Regions from separate parts of the Homo sapiens genome. Here regions 1, 2, 3, 4, 5 and 7 are each linked to region 6. The links are contacts of gene promoters, found by promoter capture Hi-C in blood cells and fetal thymus (Javierre and others, 2016). All regions are on one chromosome and are shown on one strand. The core of a region is centred on a gene start or on the middle of the fragment in contact, and the rest is flanking DNA. Distances in the headings are between cores, read along the strand shown.

Region 1 (3,009 bases), core at 119-2,618, 230 kb after region 6:
TCTCACCATCACAATGAAATACCTGACCCCTTCCTTTTTATGAAAAGGGCTAGAAAGTCAGTTACAAAGGAGTGACTGGATTTATAGTAGTCTCACCATAACAGTGATAACTATATGGAGTAATGCATGTGTCAATTAGCCTGATCCAGTCATTCCTCTCTCTCTCTCTCTCTCTCTCTCTATATATATATATATATGAATTGAAGTATATATATATGAAGTATATATATATATATTTCAATACATTGTGTTCTACATGATGAATATATACAATTTTATCCTTTTTTCTTTTTCTTTTTTAAACAGATGGGGTCTCACTATGTTGCCTGGAATGGACTCACACTGTTGAGCTCAAGCTATCCTCCTGCCTCAGCCTCCCTAGTAGCTGGACCTACAGGCACATACCACAACACCTGGCCCTATTTTATCTTTTAACTTAAAAATAAATACAAATTTTAAAAAAGGAGTTAGAAAAACATAGTAAACATAGCTGTATTTAAACTATATATAATGTAATTATTATTTTAACATAATGCTTGGCATATTTAAATGAATGTAACTAATTAGTGAACCTTAGGCTAATTTCTCTTAACTATCAAATTGTGTATCTACCCTCTCAGTAACCCCACATGAATATATGAAGGATATCTCTAAGTTAATATGGTCAAAACTGAAACCCCAAACATGGTCTCCCTGACTCTTCCTTATTTCAGTAAAAAGCATCATCGTCTATATATTTGCTAAAGCCAAAGTACAAGAGATCGTCTTTTTTTTCTTATCTCCTCTCAGCTTCAGCAAACTAACCTCAAAATCCAAACAAGTATCATCAAACTCACCCACAAAATATATCCCTGAATCTGTTTATTATACTTCAGCTCCTTTAACAATCTCCAAAGCCATCATAATTTCACCCTAGTTTCGCCACCCTAATTCCATTACGTGTCATTATTTTTTTCTAGTTTACCAAAGAAACCACCAAACAGATATGTTTACTGTCAATCCATTCTCCACAGGAAAGTCTGAGTGATATTTTAAAAAGAAAAAAAGTCATGACAATCACCTACTTAAATATCTCCAGTGGTTTTTCTCAGTGTTTAAAATACAATCCAGATATTTTATGTGTGGAAATCTCTACCAGATCTGTCCCCAGCCTACCTTCTCAGTGTCAACTCATATCACAAGAACACTGATCATCTAACTGTTCCTCAGACAGGTAAAGCCTTCTAAAATTTCAGGTTCTTTGCAAGAGATTTTGGTATATCTCAAAAGCATCCTTCTTGTTTTTCAAAAAACTGTTTTTCTTTTGGCATTCAGTCCAAGGGTAAACGATACCTCTTTTTGTTGAGCTTTGTTTGAACTGACCATGTAGAGAAATCAATCTGAGTTTGGATTATCTGCCTGGCATTTTTCATATTAGGTTAATAATCTGTGGTCTGTTCTTTGCCTGCTAGCCCTAGATTGCAAGCTCAATGGGCAATAGTAAATAATAAATCAATAAATCTTGAATAAATAAATGGATGAAGAAGAAACTGATAAATGCTTGGCTTATTCTATCTATCTTTCTTTTTTTTTTTTTTTGATGGTTCTTTTTTTTTTTTTTAATTATACTTTAAGTTTTAGGGTACATGTGCACATTGTGCAGGTTAGTTACATATGTATACATGTGCCGTGCTGGTGCGCTGCACCCACTAACTCGTCATCTAGCATTAGGTATATCTCCCAATGCTATCCCTCCCCCCTCCCCCCACCCCACAACAGTCCCCAGAGTGTGATATTCCCCTTCCTGTGTCCATGTGATCTCATTGTTCAGTTCCCACCTATGAGTGAGAATATGCGGTGTTTGGTTTTTTGTTCTTGCGATAGTTTACTGAGAATGATGATTTCCAATTTCATCCATGTCCCTACAAAGGACGTGAACTCATCATTTTTTATGGCTGCATAGTATTCCATGGTGTATATGTGCTACATTTTCTTAATCCAGTCTATCATTGTTGTTTCTTTCTTTCTTTTTCTTTTTTTTTTTTTTTGAAATGGAGTCTCACTCTATCGCCCAAGCTGGAGTGCAGTGGCATGACGTCGGCTCACTGCACCCTCTGCCTCCCAGGTTCAAGCGAGTCTCCTGTCTCAGCCTGCCAAGTAGCTGAGACAACAGGCGCATGCCACCATGCCTGGCTAATTTTTTGTATTTTTAGTAGAGACGGGGTTTCACCATGTTAGCCAGGATGGTCTCGACCTCCTGACCTTGTGATCCGCCCGCCTTGGCCACCTAAAGTGCTGGGATTACAGGCATGAGCCACTGAGCCCGGCCAATTCTATCAATTTTAAAGTCAGTTGAAGGCTAGGCTGTGTACTGCTTCCTGTGGCACTCAGCAAAATATTTTGTACAGATTTAGTAATCAATGAATATTTTTGATTAAATAAAATGTACCACGTCTCTTCCCCCCCCTCCCCCCCGGAGAAGGAATTTCAGCACAGCAGTTTTCTTACACCATGTAACAGGTGTGTTGTTTCTGATTTTACCTTTTTTGCTGAATTGAGAACAGGTGTGCCATTTCAGACATTTCTCCAGTTGCATATTTAGTAGTAAAATAAATACAATGAGTATTTTATATTAATGTAAAAAATAGTTTTATGTTAAATGACATATGAACATATCTACAGTGACTTAGAGATTGTGAATCATTTCACTACAGTCTTAATTTCTAAGTTAAATCCAGCAGCTTGCATGTGCTAGCTCAAGATTAATTAAGAAAGACGTATGAAAATAAGATTATTTGGTTAGCAAAAAGTCATAGAATTTTAGAGCTAGAAGAGAATTTAGAGATTGCTAAGATTTGTGATTTCTTATATTAATAAATTGAAGGCCATAAATGTTATTGGCTTGCCAAGTTTCTTACAAATATATTTAGTAATCTCTTACCAGTCTTGATAGTTACACTTCTAAAAATTCTGTGTTTACCAAAGTCATTATTAGAAAATCAAATAGTTAATTTTAAAAGGAAATCGAGA
Region 2 (2,963 bases), core at 351-2,850, 180 kb after region 6:
CTCCTAACTAATAGTTTGTCTGTTCAAATTTTCTATTTATTTATAATTCAATCTTGGTAGTTGCATGTGTCTAGGAAATTATTCATTTCTTCTAGGTTATCCAATTTTTGGTGTATAGTTGCTCATGGTAGTCTCTTATAATTGTCTGTATTTCTATGTGAATTGTTGTAATATCTTCTCTTTTATTTATAATTTTATTTGAGTCTTCTTTTTTTTAGTAGTTAGTCTAGCCACAGGTTTGCTGATTTTGTTCTTTTCAAAAATAAAAAAAACTCTGAGTTTTGTTGATCCTTTATATTATTTTTTCTCTCTTATTTATTTCTGTCATGATCTTTATTATTTTCTTTACTAATTTTGAGCTTAGTATATTCTTGTTTTTCTACTTTAAGTGTACTAAAGATTGTTTATTTGGAGTCTTTCTTCTTTTGGGATATAAGTATTTATTACTATAAATTTTTTTGTTAGAACTGCCCTTGCTGCATCTCATAAGTTGTGGTATATTGTGTTTCCATTGTCATTTGTCTCAATATATATATTAATTTTTTAATTGCTTCTTTGACTCATTGTTTTTCCAGAAACATGTTGTTTAACTTCCAAGTACTTTTTAACTTTCTGAAATTGCTTCCATTATTGATTTCTAGTTTTACACCTTTGTGGTCAGAAAAGATACTTGATATAATTTCAATCTTCTTAATTTTTTTTAAGATTTGTTTTGTGGACTAGCATATCATCTATCCTGGAGAACAGTTCACCTGCAGTTGAGAGGAATATGTATTCTGTAGCTGGATGGACAGCTCTGTATATGTCTGTTAGATTCATTTGGTCTAAAGTGTAGCTCACATTTGATGTTTTTATAACGATTTTCTCCCTGGAGAATCTCTTCATTGTTAAGAGTAAAGCCTTGAAGTCATTTACTATTATTGCATTACAGTCCAATTCTCCTTTTATTAGTATTTGCTTTATATATTTAGGTGCTCCAATGTTGGGTGTATATTTATAATTGTTGTATCTTCTTCCAGAATAGACCCCTTTTTCAGTATATTTAGCTGGACCTAAAGCTTATTTTATCTCATAGAAGTGTAGTTACTGCTCTCTTTTGGTTTCCATTTGCTTAGAATATCTTTTTTTCATCCCTTGATTTTTAGTGTATGTGTGTCCTTACAGGTAAAACAAGTCTCCTGTAGACAGCATAAAGTTGGGTCTTGTTTTTCCATCTAGTCAGCACTCTATGCCTTTAGATTGAATAATTTAATCCATTTACAAATAAGGTGATTATTGGTAGGTAAGTAATTACTACTGCCATTTAAAAAAATTGTTTCCTGGCTTTTTTGTACATCCTTTGTTTCAGTCTTTCTCTTTTGTTGTCTTACTATGTGGCTAAGTAATTTTCTCTAGTGAAATGTTTTGATTCCTTTATTTTTATCTTTTGTGTATTTACTATAGGTTTATGCTTTGTGGTTATGATGAGGCTTACAAAAAACAACTAATAGTTATAAAAAGCTATGTTAAACTGAATTTATACTGATTTCATTTAAAAACTACATTTTTACTCCAGCATCAGTTCTGATATTTTAACTTTTTGATTTCACAACTTAAATGTTTCTATATTGTATGTCACTTGCCAAATTATTGTACCTATTATTTTTAATAATTTTATCTTTTAACCTTCATACTAAAGAGATACGTGATTTATGTAATATCATTACAGTATTAGAGTGTGTGATTACTTTTTCCAGTGAGTTTCATACTTTCATGTTTTTGTGTTACTATTTAGCATCTTCTCTTTCAGTTTGAAGAACTTCCTTTCTCATTTTTTTGTAATATGCTAATAATGAAATCCCTCAGTTTTTGTCTGGGAAATGTCTTATCGCTTCTTAATTTCTGAAGAAGAGTTTGTAGATACAATATTCTTAGTTAACAGTTATTTTTTTCTCTTTAGCACTTTCAATATATTATCCCATTTTCTTTTTGCCTGTAAAAATTGCTTCTGAGAAATCTGCTGCTAGTCTTATTAGAACTCCCTTATATTTAATTTGCTTCTTTTCTCTGAATGTTTTCAAGATCCTTTGTTTGTCTTTAATTTTTGACAGTTTTGTTATATCTTGGCGTAATCTTGTTCCAATTGAATCTGATTTCAGACTTTTAAGCTTTTTGTATTTGGATATGTATATCTTTCTCCAAATTTGGAAAGGTTTCTGCTGTTATTTCTTTAAATAACCTTTCTAATAATTTGTTTCTCTTCTTCACACAACCCTATAACTCAAGCATTTGTTTCTTCGTATAAACAATGATAACTTGAATATTTGCTCTTTTAATGCTGTCTTATAAATCCAGTAAGCTTTCTTTAGTCCCTTTTATTCTTTTTTATCTTTTGTCCTCTGACTGTATTTTTAAATAACCTGTTTTCAAGTTCACAGGTCTTTCCTTCTGCTTGATCAATTTTGATGTTGATATTCTCCTGCATTTTTAATTTTAATTGTGGAGTTTTTTTCAGCTCTAGAATTGTTTTTGGAGTTTTATTTTAATTTAATTTATCTGTTAAATTTCCAAGTTTCATATTTTAGTACTTTCTTGATTTCATTGAATTGTTTCCCTCTATTTTATTGAAGTTTCCTGAACTTTAAAATAATTATGTCCATGGTGACTGTGAGGTCTCCTGCTGCAGGATTCCAGGGATCCATGGTGAGAGCAGGCCAATCCTTGCCTGCTCAACTCACCCCTTCCCCAGGAGTTACCGGAGGCCAAGAATGTATTCCAGTGTGACACAGCCCCATGCAGGGATCCCAGCTTCTTCCTCTTTCAGACCAGAATCTGTTTCCTCCTTCCATCCACTCTCAATGTCTTCCTTCCAAAGATGTGCTCAGAGTTTGTCAGTCTTCCTTGTGTCCCATTCCGTCAGTGGCAGATGTTCCCCCAGCTGCATCTAGTTGGACACCTTCCTTCTCTGCTTTTTTGAATATACT
Region 3 (3,013 bases), core at 514-3,013, 250 kb after region 6:
AGCCTGCCAGTGAATAGGAGTCAAGAATTGAGGTTTGAGAACCTCCACCTGGATTTCAGAAGATATATGGAAATGCCTGGATGCCCAGGTATAAATTTGTTGCAGGGGCAGGGCCCTCATGGAAAACCTCTGCTAGGGCAGTGCAGAAGGGAAATGTGGGGTCGGAGACCCCACACAGAGTCACTACTAGGGCACCATGTAGTGGAGCTGTGAGAAGAGGCCACTGTCCTCCAGGCACCAGAATAGTAGATCCACTGACAGCTTGCACCATGCATCTGGAAAAGCCACAGACACTCAATGCCAGCCCATGAAGCAGCTGGGAGGGAGGCTCCACTCCTGCAAAGCAACAGGAGTGGAGCTGCTGAAGGCCATGAGAACCTACCTCTTGCATCAGTGTGACCTGGATGTAAGCGAGGAGATCATTTTGGAGCTTTAATATTTGACTGCCCCACTGGATTTTGGACTTGCATTGGGCCTGCAGCCTCTTTGTTTTGGCCAATTTCTCCCATTTTGAATGCCTGTATTTACCCAATGCCTGCACCCTCATTGTATCTAGGAAGTAACTACCTTGCTTTTGATTTTATGGCTTATAGGAGGAACGGACTTGCCTTGTCTCAGATTAGATGTTGGACTGTGGACTTTTGAGTTAATGCTGAAATGAGTTGAGACTTTGGGGGACTGTCAGGAAGGCATGATTGGTTTTGAAATGTGAAGACATGAGATTTGGGAGAAGCCAGAGGTGGAATGATATGGCTTGGCTCTATGTCCCCACACAAATCTCATCTTGTTGCTCCCATAGTTGTGGTAGAGACCCAGTGGGAGTTAATTGAATCATGGGGGTGGGTCTTTCCTGTACTGTTCTTATGATAGTGAATAAGTTGCATGAGATCTGATGGTTTTAAAAATGTGAGTTTCCCTGCACAAGCTCTCTCATTGCCTGCCATGTAATATGTGGCTTGCTCCTCCTTGCCTTCTGTCATAATTGTGAGGCCTCCCCAGCCATGTGGAACTGTAAATCTATTAAGCCTCTTTCTTTTGTAAACTGCCCAGTCTTGGGTATGTCTTTATCAGCAGAGGGAAAATGGACAAATATACCACCTGACAAAGGATTAATAACCAAGATATATAAGGAGCTCAAACAACTTTATAGGAAAATAATTTAATAATTCAATTAAAAAATGGGCAAAGTATTTGAATGGACATTTCTGAAAGAAGACATACAAATAAATGGAAGCAGATGTAAGAAAAGGTGCTCAGAGTAATGTGAATCAAGCTACAATAAAATATCATGTCACTCTAGTTAAAATGGATTATAGACAAAAGAGGCAATACCGAATGCTGGAAATTATGTGGAGAAAAAGGAACCCTTGTACACTGTTGGTGGGAATGTAAATTAATACAACCACTGTGAAGAACAGTTTGGAGGTTCTTCAAAAATTAAAAATAGAGCTACCATACAATTCAGCAATCCCACTGCTGGGTGTATACCCAAAATAAAGGAAATCACTATATCAAAGAGATATCTGCACTCCCATGTTTGTTGCAGCACTGTTGACAATAGTGAAGATTTGGAAGCAACCTAAGTATCATCAACGGATGACTGAATAAAGAAAATGTGGTATTTATACACAATACAGTACTATTCCGACATAAAAAGGAATGATATCCTTTCATTTGCAGCAACATAGATGGATCTGGAGGTCATTATGTTAAAGGAAATAAGCCAGGCACAGAAAGACAAACATCACATGTTCTCACTTATTTGTGGGATCTAAAAATCAAAACAGTTTAACTCATGGAGATAGTAGAAGAATCATTACTACAGGCTGGGAATGGTAGTGTGGGGGTTGGGGGGGAAGGTGAGGATGGTTAATGGGTACAAAAAATAGAAAGAACATGTAAGATCTAGTATTTGATAGCACAACAGAGTGACTATAGTAAAAAATAATTTAACTTTACATTAATAAAAACTAAGAATATGACTGCATTGTTTGAAATACGAAGGGTAATTCCTTGAGCGGATGGACACCCCATTTTCCATCATATGATTATTATGCATTGCACGCCTGTGTCAAGATATCTGATGTACTCCATTAATATATACACCTGCTAGGTACCCACAAAAATAAAAACAAAGAATTGTCCCAAATCATTTTTAGCAAATGCAGTTATCAATTGGTTAGTTTTCTTTCTCCATTGATGTTCACATTCTCCACAAGACTGAAGCTATTCCATTTGTTTCTTATTTTTGTCAACACACTGTAACTATGCTGACGAACTATCCTGTGTCTAATTATTGTGCTTTGTACCCGAGAGAGACTGCAAGGACATAGACACCACCATCACCAGGACAAAGCAATTCAGGGAAGAATGTCTTTGAATTCAAATTTCAATCACATTATTTTTTAATCATGAGATTAAAGATATGGACAAACAAGACCTAATGTGGGACCTGGAGACAGTGAGAGTGGGGTGTTTTGCAGATGTTTAAAAGTTACTGAGAATTACGTGTATATACAAAGAAACTGTGCCTATTATCTCTCTGTGAATGCCTCCAAAGCAGCATTACCCAGACATATGGAACAGGTTTTTCTCTTCCCAGAAAGAAACTAAAATTTAAGAAGAAATAGAACAAGCAGACAGAGAATTCATTTATTGTATGGCTCCTGTGGACCATATTGCACAGGGAATGACACTGGGTAAAACCCCCATGCAAAAGTGGCTTTTATAACTAACCAACTCAACCATATGTTTAAAGCATTTTAAATTTCCCTAGAGTTGACTCTCAGAAATAAAACCAAGGACTCTTTAGTTAGTCCAAAGAAGTTTAATGTAACTTTGAACAAATTTCTTACAGTCAAACATTTTCAAGGAGCCCAACGATCTACTAAAGAATTGAGATTACACTGCAACTCCTAAATCAGCAGAGACTATAATTATGCTTTAATTTTTTTATATCACCTAGCACTCTAGGGGAAAATTCTGGGTTTGTTTCAAAGGTTAGAAGGTAAGG
Region 4 (3,006 bases), core at 293-2,792, 160 kb after region 6:
TTAATATCTGGTAGTGTTAGTCCCATGTCAATGCATTTTTCCATTTTGGGAAGCAGAATTTCTAAAGAAGTATTTTTGCCTGTTCATTTATTTTTCATGTGAACTTTATAATCTGCTAATTTAGTTAAGGAGAACTCTTACTGATAAATTATAAAAATTGCATTGAATTTTTAGATTAAATTCAAGAGAATTGGTATAATACTGGGTCTGAGTCTTCCGATCCACACAAAGGAAAGTTTTCCTTTTTAGCTCTCATTAGTATTTGAAAATTATCTTAATGTAGATATTACCCATTGCTTCTTAAGCTTAAATCTAGCTGTTAGTAAGTTCTTTTTGTGTGTGTAAATTAGCCAGGCCTGGTTTCTGTCACCTGTACTGAAACAGGTGAAATATAAATTAAGAAGGTCTCTATTTATCGATGGTGGATGGGGGGGGCAAGTCTCTAACGTGATTTTTTTTACACATGGATAAATGCAGCACTCTTTAAATTTACAGTTTCAAAGTTGTTGGTTGAATAATAGCAAATTTGCATTGCAGACAATAAGCCTTTTCTTGGGAAACTGGATCAAGAACTAGGTTATATTCTTTTTGATACTTAATATTAGACAATTCAGATAAATTTTGGAGGCCCCAAATTAGATCAAATGGCAGAAAAAATGCCCAGATATTTAGAAGCAAGATATTTTAACTAGTGAGCCAGGACCAGTGCCAAGACCAGAATTATTTTGGGGATGGGCTGTTGTCAGACAACTGAATTCCTTCTCAACTGTCCCTTTGGCATAGTGTGTATGTTCTTGGAGGAAAATTTGGTATGTAAGTGTGTTTTATGGGCATCTGTGAAAATCAGAGGGAGAAACAGAGCTAGGGAGAGAGAAAAAGACAGACAGAGATAGGCAGCTAATTCATAAAGCTGTAACATGGAGCGTACAGGAGAATTTTGACAAATAGTAGTTGCAGGGTTTTTCCACCCTTATCCCTAAGGACATATGTTGCTAAGGGCACATGAAAATTTTACATGTGATCATGAGAATATTATGTAAATTCAAACTGAAAAACTGAGGGAAGAACAATCCAGACTGAACTTATAAATAATAGTAATCTATATAATTTTTAAAAGTAAGATATTTTATATCTGAAGATGAAGTTTTAAGATATATTGATAGCAACTGCATATGGAAGTTTCCTATTTTATTAATATCAAATAATTTATTAAGTAATATATTTTGATTTATTATATTTTTTAAGTTAGTATATTATTAAAAAGTGATTTATACAATAAAAATATAAGAAATAAAATATGTATGAAGTAAAAAAAACCCATTCTTAGTGACTCAAACTAATGCTATTAAAGGTACCCAATGTTAACAATTTTGTGAATATCTTTTTAATATTTATTTCCTCTATATATTATATTTAATAAACATATAATCTTATATATGATATCTTGAACATCATATTTTTTACTCAACCTCTCATGAAAATTTCCACTTCAGCATACATACATCAATCTCTTTCTAATGATGTTTCATATTGTATCACATTCTACATGTATTGCACCATATGTTTAGTGCTTTTATTGAACTAAGTACTGAAATACAAAATTTCTAGACAAAATATTAGTTAACTTAGTAGAGTAATGTTCATTACAGAAACTATGAGAAGATCATAAAATGTTGGTAGTGTTTAGTTTTCAAAAACTCTGAGTCTCTCATGTCTTTGATTCCATAATCAAGTCTCTAGTCCCATGTCCAATCTATAAGACCAAAGTGCAAATATACAGAATTTCTGGCAATCGGTCAGAGGTTTTACTCTTCATGTTTCCATAACTACTTGATTCTATTCCTAACTAATATGAATCTTATGTTCTGTGGATCTTAGTCTCATTCCTGCATCTTGCCCGTTATATTTAAGATGTGTATGTGGTATCTCCAGTATTTGACACTTTCTAGAAGAATATGACTTAAATATTTGGATCAAGGCTCCATGCTACAGTGGGAAGAGTAGCAATCACTGACACTTTATTATTCAGGAATCTTTACTGGACCAGTGCTTATATCACCATGGGGGAGGGCGAGTGAGTTTGGAATTTCATATGGGCCATATACAATTGAGCAAATGGAGAGTGAAGCTGGGTTTGGGGCTTTGAAAACAAGGGTTAATATAAGGCGCATTCATGTATAAAAGTAATAAGCCTATTTTTAAGTCTTTATTTAATAAGTGATTTTTGCTTAAGGATATTGATAAAATATTTTCGTTAGGTTCAAAATATAAATATAACTGTGTTGGATTCTAGCAAGATAATCTTGCTGGAGTGAATTAAATTACTTTGGTTATTCTGTCAAAGTTTCTTTGAAGAGATAAATCCTGAGCTATGTTTTAATGCTGAAGGAATGGTTCCAGGTTATAGTGGAAGTTCCTCGCATGGACAAGGTATGGCATGTGTGATGATATTAAGACTTGTGTGTTTATTAGCATCTGCTTTCCAAAATGTTTTTATATGCATATTTGTAGGGAAGAGAGAGGCTGAACAAAGACAAAGAAGGAGCCAAAGCTGGAATGAGTTTAGAAGACAAAGAAAGAGGTGCTGCAAATAGTTTTATTGGTTTAAATTTATATAACCTTTGTGAGGTTTTTCATTGCTTCACAATGTGGAAATGTATGTTTCTGCCATACATGCATGTGTAACTTGCCATGCATATTTATTTCTGTATGAAATCATCATTTTGGTAACTCCTTCAGGACTCAAAATGAATTTGAGATGCATTTATAGCACTATTTTGTAAGCTTCAAAAATAGTCTAGCTGAAATGTCTTAAGCCACAAACAATATTTTTCTTCAAAGTAAATCCATCACTGAATAAAACTCAATATAAGTATTTCCAGGTAATTTTTGAAAGTTCTGCATGAGTAGTTGTAATATTTTGTATCTATAATTTCTGTATTTGAAACATTTAAGAGCCTCCTTGAGTTGGGATGGCTGCTATATATATATATATATATATATATA
Region 5 (3,408 bases), core at 432-2,931, 160 kb before region 6:
ATATTTGACTTTGACCCCAAATTTTATACCAATAAAATCATAATGGCTTATTATGAATTAGAAGAAATATCAAAGAGGTTGTACTAAAAGTCTGTTAATGTTTTTCTATAAATAATTTAAGAATATCTTTATCTTTAACAAAAATTTTCAATGTCTGGTATTAAGAAACTGATACTTTCTGGATATTTAGTTATTTGTCCCAGGTCTGTACCAGAGAGATTAGAAACGTCCTAGAATATTATCCACTTTGCATTTACTTAACATATTCTTAACTGGATGTTGGTCTAAAGATCTAAGTCTGCACGTTCAGTCATTATTTCCAGCACTTAACCTTCAGCCAAGCGGAATCCGTCAACTCAATAATGGAAGAACCTTGCATTAAATAGATTAAGCAGGGACTCAAAATGGATATGGAGCTCAAATGATACAAAGCTCTTGTCCAATTATAGGCTGCATGTTTGAGGCTCAGTCAAAGACAATTCATAGTAGGCTTATAATGCCTATGGTTCAATCTGGTTGGTGTATCATTAAAATCAAACCCAGAGCAAGATTTTGCCTGCACACAGTTTTTAAAAAGCCCTCCAACTTAAGAAAAAATCACTTTTGACTTTGCAGCTGTAGTTGTGCAGTAGCCAAAGTTTTCAAAGAAATAATATCATGACATTCAAGCCGTAGTTTTTGATATCAAATTGTTAAATAATTAGAAATTTTAATGCAAGAAAGTATAGCTGAATGAAAATATGAACACTTAGAAAAAATAAATATGAATTTTCCTCATTGCTCCGACAAAAATGGTTTAAGTGTAATAAAATCTAAGGCGGAAAAAAAGGAAGGAAAACCTGGTTTCTATTGACTATAAAATGATCTTTGAAAATATATATTTTTTCTTATGGCAGCTTTTCCTCATGGCATGTTGCCAGTGTTTGGACAAGATCTTTATCCTCTCAATTGCTATGCATGATATCTCAGGTCTGCGTCTCCACTATGCTTGCACAAATGAAAATGATTTGGTAGAGTTACTCTCTGAGGTTTAGGATAGTACAGTTTGAATCAAATATTGTTATTTCAGTACATTCAAACCAGTGGAATTTTTGCGTTGATATCATATAGCTGTGCTGCACACAGATCTAAAAATAATGAGATGCCAAGCAATGTATGTAGGTAAGAGTAAAGTAGGAAAGAAAAATTTCGTAAAAGAAAAGAGAAAGTGTAGGGAAATGATACATCTAAAGCGGATGGTCATTCATATTCAGTTATTTTCCTTTAACAAATTCTAGAAAATTCTCCTATGGCAGCTATACATCTCAGGTATTAGAAATCTAGTGGGTTTTTCTCCGTATGTATGTACTTTTAATTTCTAGGTATTAACACAGCCCACCTGAACATACCATACGGGGACATTTATTTCTGCCTCCAGTTTTCTTAATTTGCCAGATTAGCTCCTAGGAGAGTAGGAAATAAATCAGGAAACTTATCTGTGTCTCTACCCGCTGTTGTAAAATACTCAAAGACAGTATTCTTCTCTTGTGCTGGAAATATTAATACCAGCACAAAAGAAGAAGAGAAAATAGAACCTGCCTAGACACACCCTGAGATGAAAGTGGAAACCCAACAGCAACCAGCCCTGGTTCAGGGCCTATCTCCCATGGCTGGCTGCCATAGCTGGCTAGGTGTGATCATGTTATGCTTGGCAAGTCTGCGTGTTTGTCTAGGGCCTTTAGTAGTGGAATGGGAAGCAATGGATAAGAGGAGAAAAATGGTTTTTATCCAAAGAGAGAACTTTTCCCCTTGGCAAAGCCCCAGACAGCTGTCAAAGGTTTTTTCTCCCCGCAGCTTCAGGCTATTCTCTACAGGTTGCAGTTTCCTTTGAAACAAGTCAGAGGAATGACTAATGTGAGGGAAGACATGGCAAAAGAAAGACTGAACTAGGCTTTCATTTTCAGAAGCCTGAGTTTTATTTATAGAGTAAAAATGCAAATGTAACAGTTGCCGTCTTATACCCCTGCTTATTCATCGAAGAGTCAACCTACAACAGATAAAGGCAAGGAAAGACCCTGTATTAAATATCAGAGACAAAGAGGCCGGGGCAAACATACAGAGGTAATTTCTCTCCTTCCCTCTCCCTCTCCTTTTCTTTAAGGTTCCCTTTCTCTTAAAGGAATTTCTATGCCAGAAAAAGCAAAACACTATTGAACATAGTAAATAGCCTGGGATTTGAAGAACTTCATTTTAAAAGCAAATTGTTTGCCCTCTGGAAAATAAAGCTGAAAGCCAGTTGGGAAGGTTAATTCCTTTTGGAAGCCCCTTGACTATCTCCATTTTAGGGAAACATGGCCTACACACAGTTAAAGGGAAATGATAGTGATATTTTGTGATACGTGTCCTTTAGTGTAATCTGTTTTAGGAATCTGGACTCAGGATATCCAGAGTCTAGTCCTGCCTCTGCTTCTCCCTTCTAGAACCAACACCAGGAATGAATGAACAGAACTAGAGATATCCTCAGTAATTTAGAGAGATGATAAAGTAATTGTTATCCAATAAGTGGAAGGTGATGGAGTGAGCAAATATTAAAGAGAAAATAAAACTGTGAATTCAATATGATAGAGAGACATGAGTGAGCCACTGATGCCTATAATGAGATATCCCCAAAAGTTTTCCACAGATTTTGAATTAATTAGGAAAGACTTGCTTAAATGAAACAAACAATAGCAATAAGATGTTAGCTACATTCCTCAGGTACACAAATGGGAAGATAGTGTGAGACATTATGAGAGAATTCCTGCATCATACTCTGTAGTTTTCAGTCTCCTTTGGTAAGACTATCATAGTCTAACACTAGACAAATTAATAGAAAGTTCTGGATATTATTTTTGAATTACATTTTTTTCTTTGGTCAGTTACACCTATGTTTGAAAGTCAACTATAAAACATGTCTTTTAAAACTCTTACTTAATGGGATCAGCATAGTTTACAATTAAAATCTAATGTATGAGGTTAAGAAATACATATATTCTGAGAACCATCAGCTCCTTAGGAAAAGAGTGTATTTAGAATCATGCTAAAGCTCAAGTAAAATAGTTTAGGTGGGGCAGAAAGAGAAAACAGGGTAGCTAAAAAGTTTTGAACTTGTGGAATCCATGGTTACCTCAAACCCCTGCTGTTGAGAAGATTAAGCAAGGTAAAAATTGGAATTTCTAAGCAATATTCCAGTTCTAGTTGAAGAACACATTACATACTTCAAGTCCACTATGGAAACCCAATTGTTGATATTATGTATTATTATCCTATGATCTATCTTCTCCAAGATTTACTTCTGTAAAGCAAAATCAGAAACCAAGCTCAGGCATGGCAGTGATGCCTTGATATGTTAGAGTAAAAAAGATCTTTCTACAACCGAACGGTATGCCA
Region 6 (3,041 bases), core at 487-2,986:
TCCTCCCCCTCGTCTCTGCGCGCCCCCACCCCGCCATCCCCCGCTAGCGCACACATGCAGGAGAACCCTTTTTAGGCTAAACCGGAAAGTTTAGGTCTTCTCCCCTCTTCTTTTGCTTGTGCAAATAGCACTAAGCTAAACGGAAAGTGGTGGGGTTTTGGTGATGAAATAAGAGTCCACGCACAGAAGCTTGCCTTTTATTACCGCTTCGCTCGAGGCGAAATCGCTGAAAGTTCGGCTATTTAACTCCTGTCCCCATAACTCGGAATCCCGGACACCAGCGGCCCCAGCTGCTGGCGCGCGGCTCTCTTCCAGTCCCCTGGATCCCAAAGCTCCCTGCCACAGCGCGGCGTCTCCTCCTCCTGTCAACTTCCCTCCTTGCACTGTGACGGAGGCAAAGCAACTCAGCCCAGGAGGTTGAACTCGAGTCATCAGAGAAGGAGAAACAGTGCCGAAAACGGCCCGTGCGCTACCAGGGTAGCCCATTAACGCATTAACTCCAGGCTCGTTGGGCAGAAGCCGGGAGGAAACACCCTGGGGACCGCACTCCTGGTTAAATGCCCAGCACGAGTCAAATCCGGCCTTTCCAAAGCGAGCCAAGCCCACTACTACAAAGAGATCCCCCGAGTGTTTTGCCTTAACCACATTTCAGACAGCCAGCTTTGTGGCTGCTGTTTGACTCCAACTTTCCCTCTAAATCTAAAAGGATGCACACTTCCATCAGACGGAACGTCGCGATTCCCCGGCGAAGAAAAAGGCGTCGCCCATTCCTCTTCCAAAACGCTACAACAAAAACCACCACGCTTCCCTTCCTTCTTCCTTGCCCCTTTCCCTTCTCCCAGACCAACAAGGAAAGGAGCGAGCGAGGGCGCAGATGCCCTTTGGTCAAGTACTCCCCGGATGTTCCCGACTAAAGCGTCTCCAAATGAACCTGCAGCCTGCGGAAGCCGGGGACACATTCATAGACGCTCTCTGCTGCCCAGACCAGGAGGGGTGGTGGGGGAACCAGGAAGCCAGGGAGAGAGCAAAGTTCCTGGACGCGTCTCAGGAGGAAAACTTTGTGCAGTGCTGCCAGGCGGAGGCTCGTCAGAAGGCTCCGCAGCTGCTGAGGCGGGGTGGGACTGCGCCCCAGGGGCCGCGCTGAAGCTGGCGCCGCGATTACTGCGCACCGATTTCGCCCACTCTCTGTCCGCTCCCGGGAGCCTTCTCTGTCTCAGGACGGTTCCTTATCTCCCAAACCATGCTCGTCCTCCACTTCGGACCCACAGCCACCCCCAAATCCCGGCTATCCCCGCTTAGCACCGCGGTCTCCAGCACACCCTCCCACTGGAGTAGCAGGTGACCCAAACCAGACTTACCTGCTGTGAACTCTTCTCTCCCTCTCTCTTTTCCTGGTGCCTTTTCAGGGAGAGGGGAACGGGATGCAGGCTGAGGTCCAGCGGCGCGGCAACCCGGGGCACCGGCGCGCGTTCCTCTGAGCCGCAGCCCTGGCTGAGCAAGCGGAGCCGCCGGCAGCCCTGGCAGAGCCGGGAAGCTGCGGCCGCAGGGGCCAGGCCGGGAGGCAGGGGGCGCTGCTGCCTCCCCCGAGAGCCGCGCTAGGACAGGCGGAGAGCAAGGCACCAGCTGGAGCTTTGGGGAGGAGAGGGTGGCGAGGAAAGGCACGCTCCAAACAGGAGGGCGGCTTTTAAGTTTGTGGTGTGACCGCAGCAGCTGTCCTGGGAGAGACTCAGTCTTTCTAAAAAGAGGATGCTGAAAACGCCGGGGATTACCTTTCCCCTTCCGATCTCCTCCCCCAGCCCTCGCCCCCTCCTTCCACTGCGCACGCCAGAACTCCCAAGCGTGCAGAAGTTCATCCCTGCTGCGCGGAGGCTGCCAGCAGCGTGGATTTAGAGGTAGCCCTGGCCAAGCGCTGACGGATGTTTATCAGGACAGGGCACCCTATGTGTAAAGCAACCTCTAACGTCTGATCTTCCTTCTGGGTGACTTGGGGACTTCTTTAGTTCCTTCTCTATACCATAAAACCTGTTAAGGGACCCCATGAGGAAGAAACAGGGAGAGTGACCACAAACACCGTCCTAAAAATGCTAATCCCACAAAACAGTACCTGCGTTCCACTATGTAAAACCTCAATCCACGGTTAATGGCCTTGACAAGGCAGGCATAGGGATGAGGAACAGGGATCAACCCTCCGTTAAGGGGCTGGCACCCGATTAAGACCAAACAGGGAGAGATAAAAACGAGTAGAATGTAATCCTTTCTTCCTCTTTCCCTTACGCCAGACCTACAAAGAGGTGTGCCTCATATCCTTGTCTTCGGGAGTTTTTTAGATTTTTGCACCCCTTATTCACACAGTAGGAACTTAGAAGTATATAATGACGAGAAGATCTAAGTTTTGATGAACCTGGATCCTATGCAATTGGAATAGAGGATCCTCTTTAAGCAAAAGTAATGCAGAAATATCTCACTTCTACAGATTCTGCAAAAATATATGACAATGAGAGTTCATGAGGCCACCGTCAGGGACATTAAAAAGGCCTGTGCATTTGGTGAGCCCTGTACGTTAGGCATTTTTAGCTGCATGGTAAATCCTTTGTGATGGGATATCCAGGTTTATAGTCACACACCTTGCCCTTAGTCCCAAACATAAATCTGACATGAGGTAGAGACATGGAAAGCAAGCAGCCACGGGATCCTGCATTTGTCAGCTTGATTTAAGAGCACAAGGTGTAGGGTCCCAAAGCTTCCTTAGCAAGTAACAAGAGATATCTTGATTTGGAGATGGTGAACAGACAAATGCAGTAATGGAATAACTGAAAGGGGTGGAAGACATTCTTCATTTGACCTTTTATCTGTGGCAGAGGGCTGAGGGCCACAGAAGCTAAAGGAGTCATTTTAAGTTATAAATGGTTGATGGCAGAGTCAGGCTAAGGAAAGGCTCAGGTTTCTCAAATCTGACCAAGGCTCTTTCTTGTGTCTCATGCTGCCCCATCTCTATAACCTTGGTTTGGACTCACAACCAATCAACCCCATAAATACCCTCT
Region 7 (2,965 bases), core at 146-2,645, 140 kb after region 6:
ATAATGTACATATTAAGGAAAGTATATTTTATATAAAGCACAAGATGTATCAGTAGAGAAAAGCTATTTAAGTAATGTCTCTTGATAAAACTACTCATAGTTAAGATATAAACACACATGTCCTCTATCCAGAGATGTAGTTCCTACAATTCCATGATGTCATGAAGGCATCTTCTCATAGAGAAAATACCTCTCTCTGGAAGAACTTTTATGATTCACCCTGTCTTACATAGCAATTAATTTGTAAACGCTGAATTTATATCTCATTATTTTTTAATTTGGCTGTTGTTTTTTACCATTTGGGCTCTTTGCTCCAGAAAAGCCCCAATCCCATCATTGTCTTGATCCCCACATGACAGTTTGACTTTAATCTTAGATTTCCAGGCCACAGATCTCCTCAGGTTTGACAAAGATCATGCCAAAATTAGTCTATTTCACCAAGCAATACGCATAATACCACTGTCACTTTTTAATTCACCTTAATATTCCTTGACCCGGGCTCAGTAAAACAACAATTAAGAAAAACAAATGAAACACTCAAAGTAACTGATGAATCAGAAGCAATGCAATGAGGAAATACCATGATGAGTTTGAGGCTACAGGATTGGATTGTTTCTAGACTATCATTTCAATGTTTATTCATTTTATCAATGTTCTGGTGTTGGCTATACATAGAGGTAAAGTAAATACAATAACAGATTTTGCACTCAACAAGCTTATACTTTGGTAAAACAGACATCTAAACAGACAATGAGTGAATACAAGAAAACAAATAGATTTCAAGAGAAAGAATTTTTGAGTTCAGCATGAGACATGTTGAGATTTGAGTGCCTAGGAGACATTGCAACAAGTATTGTAATTCATAAATGTTGAACATTATGGATTAATACGATCAGAGATTCGTATAGTCATTCATATGTGTATTTAGCAGCTTAAATGATTGGAATGTACAAATAACTTAGTGAGGGTTTATAAAGTGAAAAAAAATGAGACTCAATGACAGACTCTAAATAATCTCAACATTTTATTGAGTTAAGATACCAACAGTGTCTTAACAATGTATCGATCAATTCATCTATTAATCAAACATGGTTATTTGCAGGTTTTTTTCTGTTCATATTCTTTGCAAGACAGTAATATATTCTCTTTTAGCAGTTCGCATTCCATTTAACCTTTTCAATTGGCAAAACTGAGGCAATTCAGAAGTTGAAAGATATTTCAGAAGTTACTCTCATAATGAAGGATAATTGAACTAAAATTCAGGAAAGACTTTTAATATATTATGACTTCTAACCTTCTTAATCTTATCATAATTGAAAAGACAGAGCTTGATTGACAAACATAAATGTAGAAAAAAATCAGCATAATACTTTAATGGCTAATATTTGCCACAGTTCTTATCAAAATCATATTACTAAAAATTATAAAAAGTTGATAAAATATTTGGCTTATTACAAAGTGAAAAAAAGTAAAGTTTTTGCTTTTTTTACTTGCTAATATTCACCACTCTTCTGGCCTGAACCCCATTTATCTCCATTGGCTTTACATGAAGACATGTGAAGTCTTACTCTGTCAATAACATCATCCTAACATTTTTTTCCTACTAAATTTATAGAAAATCAGTTCCTAAAGAAAATTAGAGGGATTACCTTTACGCCAGTGTAAAGCAATGTTATTTCAGGTGTTTTCCTTAAGGAGCAGCATATTTGTTAACAAATTTTTTTCCCAATATGACATATGGCACTTGGAACAAGTACTACATCTGAGCTTTCACAAAAGAAAATAATGTCATTTTATATCTGATTGAACTTACCTCCTTTTTATGTTCAAGAAGACTAAAGGAACCAATTTCAACTGTTTTATTTGTGGCATTTTTTTTAACAGAATAACTCTCACTAAGAGGATATTTTTAAAATATATTGTTAGAGTAATTATTTAAAACACTTTCTAACTTACAAGCAAAATTTGCGCAACAAATAAAAAACACTTCTAAAAAAATTCTTTTGGCATATGCTTGGATGGAGTAATTTCATGGCTGCCTTAAATAAATAATGGAAAATAATAATATGGTTCTGAGAAGCTTACCACTTAGTGGGTCAGACTAAAAAGTAAACAAATAATGACGATATGTAAAGTGACAATTATACAAAAAATTATATACAGTGATAGGATAAACACAGCCAGCCTGCATCACTTGTTCAAGTGGGGAAGTCTGAGTTTAGATAGGACTATGTGAAAACAAGTATTTCCTATTTGTTTACAAGGATCATGGGCACAGCATCCGTGATTTCACCTACAGTGGTTAAACACACATAAATTATTTTTATCCAAAATGACTTTGTTTGCCTAGAATGATTTTATGTGGTTGATTCAAATGTTTATATTCCATGCATATGTTTCATAAATAATTATCTCAGGAATGCTGGAAGTAGGTCAAAGAGATATGTACTGTGATAGAGGATATAGGGCAATCATAGCAATCAGTTTTGGAATTTTATAATAATTGTGTAGTTGATTTTGCATTCTTCTCATTTTAAATCTATGCTTAAGTCTCAATGAATGTTGTCTCTATAAAAAATTCAAGAGATGTTTGCCATAATAAAATTAATTTGTCATGCCAACTTTCATCCAACTTCCCACAGATGCTGGGGACTCCATCTCACCATCATCATGAAAAATGTCCAGCATATTTATTTTACAGATGTGGAAATTAAGACCTACAGTTAATGACTTTTCTAGATTTCTATAAATGATAAATATATAATCTTCATTAAAAGTTAAAATACTAATTCCATATTTATAAAATAAGGAACCAATGTGAACAGGGTGATAGTTGTCCAAAAATTGAGTGCAAGGTAAACTCTTTTTTTTTTTTTTTGGGTTATTTATCATTGTATATTTTGATTGTTACCCCAAATTTAAGAAATTATTAATGAAGAGCATAACTTTTTACATATTAATTATG

What was found. The method cuts DNA at HindIII sites, captures the fragments that hold promoters and counts their contacts. A CHiCAGO score of 5 or more calls a contact.
Region 1: a contact is called between a fragment that was not itself captured here and the fragment with the promoter of SEMA3D in region 6, in 2 of 17 cell types (total B cells and naive B cells). The highest score is 12.0, in total B cells.
Region 2: a contact is called between a fragment that was not itself captured here and the fragment with the promoter of SEMA3D in region 6, in 2 of 17 cell types (naive B cells and total B cells). The highest score is 8.5, in naive B cells.
Region 3: a fragment that was not itself captured here is called in contact with the fragment with the promoter of SEMA3D in region 6 in 1 of 17 cell types (total B cells); the score reaches 6.0 in total B cells.
Region 4: a fragment that was not itself captured here is called in contact with the fragment with the promoter of SEMA3D in region 6 in 2 of 17 cell types (total B cells and naive B cells); the score reaches 6.3 in total B cells.
Region 5: a contact is called between a fragment that was not itself captured here and the fragment with the promoter of SEMA3D in region 6, in 2 of 17 cell types (total B cells and naive B cells). The highest score is 5.9, in total B cells.
Region 7: a fragment that was not itself captured here is called in contact with the fragment with the promoter of SEMA3D in region 6 in 2 of 17 cell types (total B cells and naive B cells); the score reaches 12.2 in total B cells.

The regions. Positions count from the first base shown.
Region 1 is chr7:85,416,986-85,419,994 of GRCh38, forward strand. No RefSeq gene overlaps it. Among named protein-coding and RNA genes, the nearest start is that of LINC00972, 2.6 kb to the right of the region's middle. The HindIII fragment of the contact is 5,665 bases long and covers 1-3,009 here.
Region 2 is chr7:85,366,247-85,369,209 of GRCh38, forward strand. No RefSeq gene overlaps it. Among named protein-coding and RNA genes, the nearest start is that of LINC00972, 53 kb to the right of the region's middle. The HindIII fragment of the contact is 1,089 bases long and covers 1,057-2,145 here.
Region 3 is chr7:85,434,628-85,437,640 of GRCh38, forward strand. All of the region lies in intron 1 of LINC00972 (long intergenic non-protein coding RNA 972), which reads left to right. Among named protein-coding and RNA genes, the nearest start is that of LINC00972, 15 kb to the left of the region's middle. The HindIII fragment of the contact is 6,012 bases long and covers 1-3,013 here.
Region 4 is chr7:85,346,984-85,349,989 of GRCh38, forward strand. No RefSeq gene overlaps it. Among named protein-coding and RNA genes, the nearest start is that of LINC00972, 73 kb to the right of the region's middle. The HindIII fragment of the contact is 2,479 bases long and covers 304-2,782 here.
Region 5 is chr7:85,023,756-85,027,163 of GRCh38, forward strand. The region is part of intron 12 of SEMA3D (semaphorin 3D); the gene reads right to left. Among named protein-coding and RNA genes, the nearest start is that of SEMA3D, 160 kb to the right of the region's middle. The HindIII fragment of the contact is 9,941 bases long and covers 1-3,408 here.
Region 6 is chr7:85,185,320-85,188,360 of GRCh38, forward strand. It overlaps SEMA3D (semaphorin 3D), which reads right to left and starts at 1,737. Exons shown (of 19, transcript NM_001384900.1): 1 at 1,359-1,737. RefSeq lists a silencer at 1,549-1,608. The HindIII fragment of the contact is 2,551 bases long and covers 188-2,738 here.
Region 7 is chr7:85,326,548-85,329,512 of GRCh38, forward strand. No RefSeq gene overlaps it. Among named protein-coding and RNA genes, the nearest start is that of LINC00972, 93 kb to the right of the region's middle. The HindIII fragment of the contact is 1,365 bases long and covers 714-2,078 here.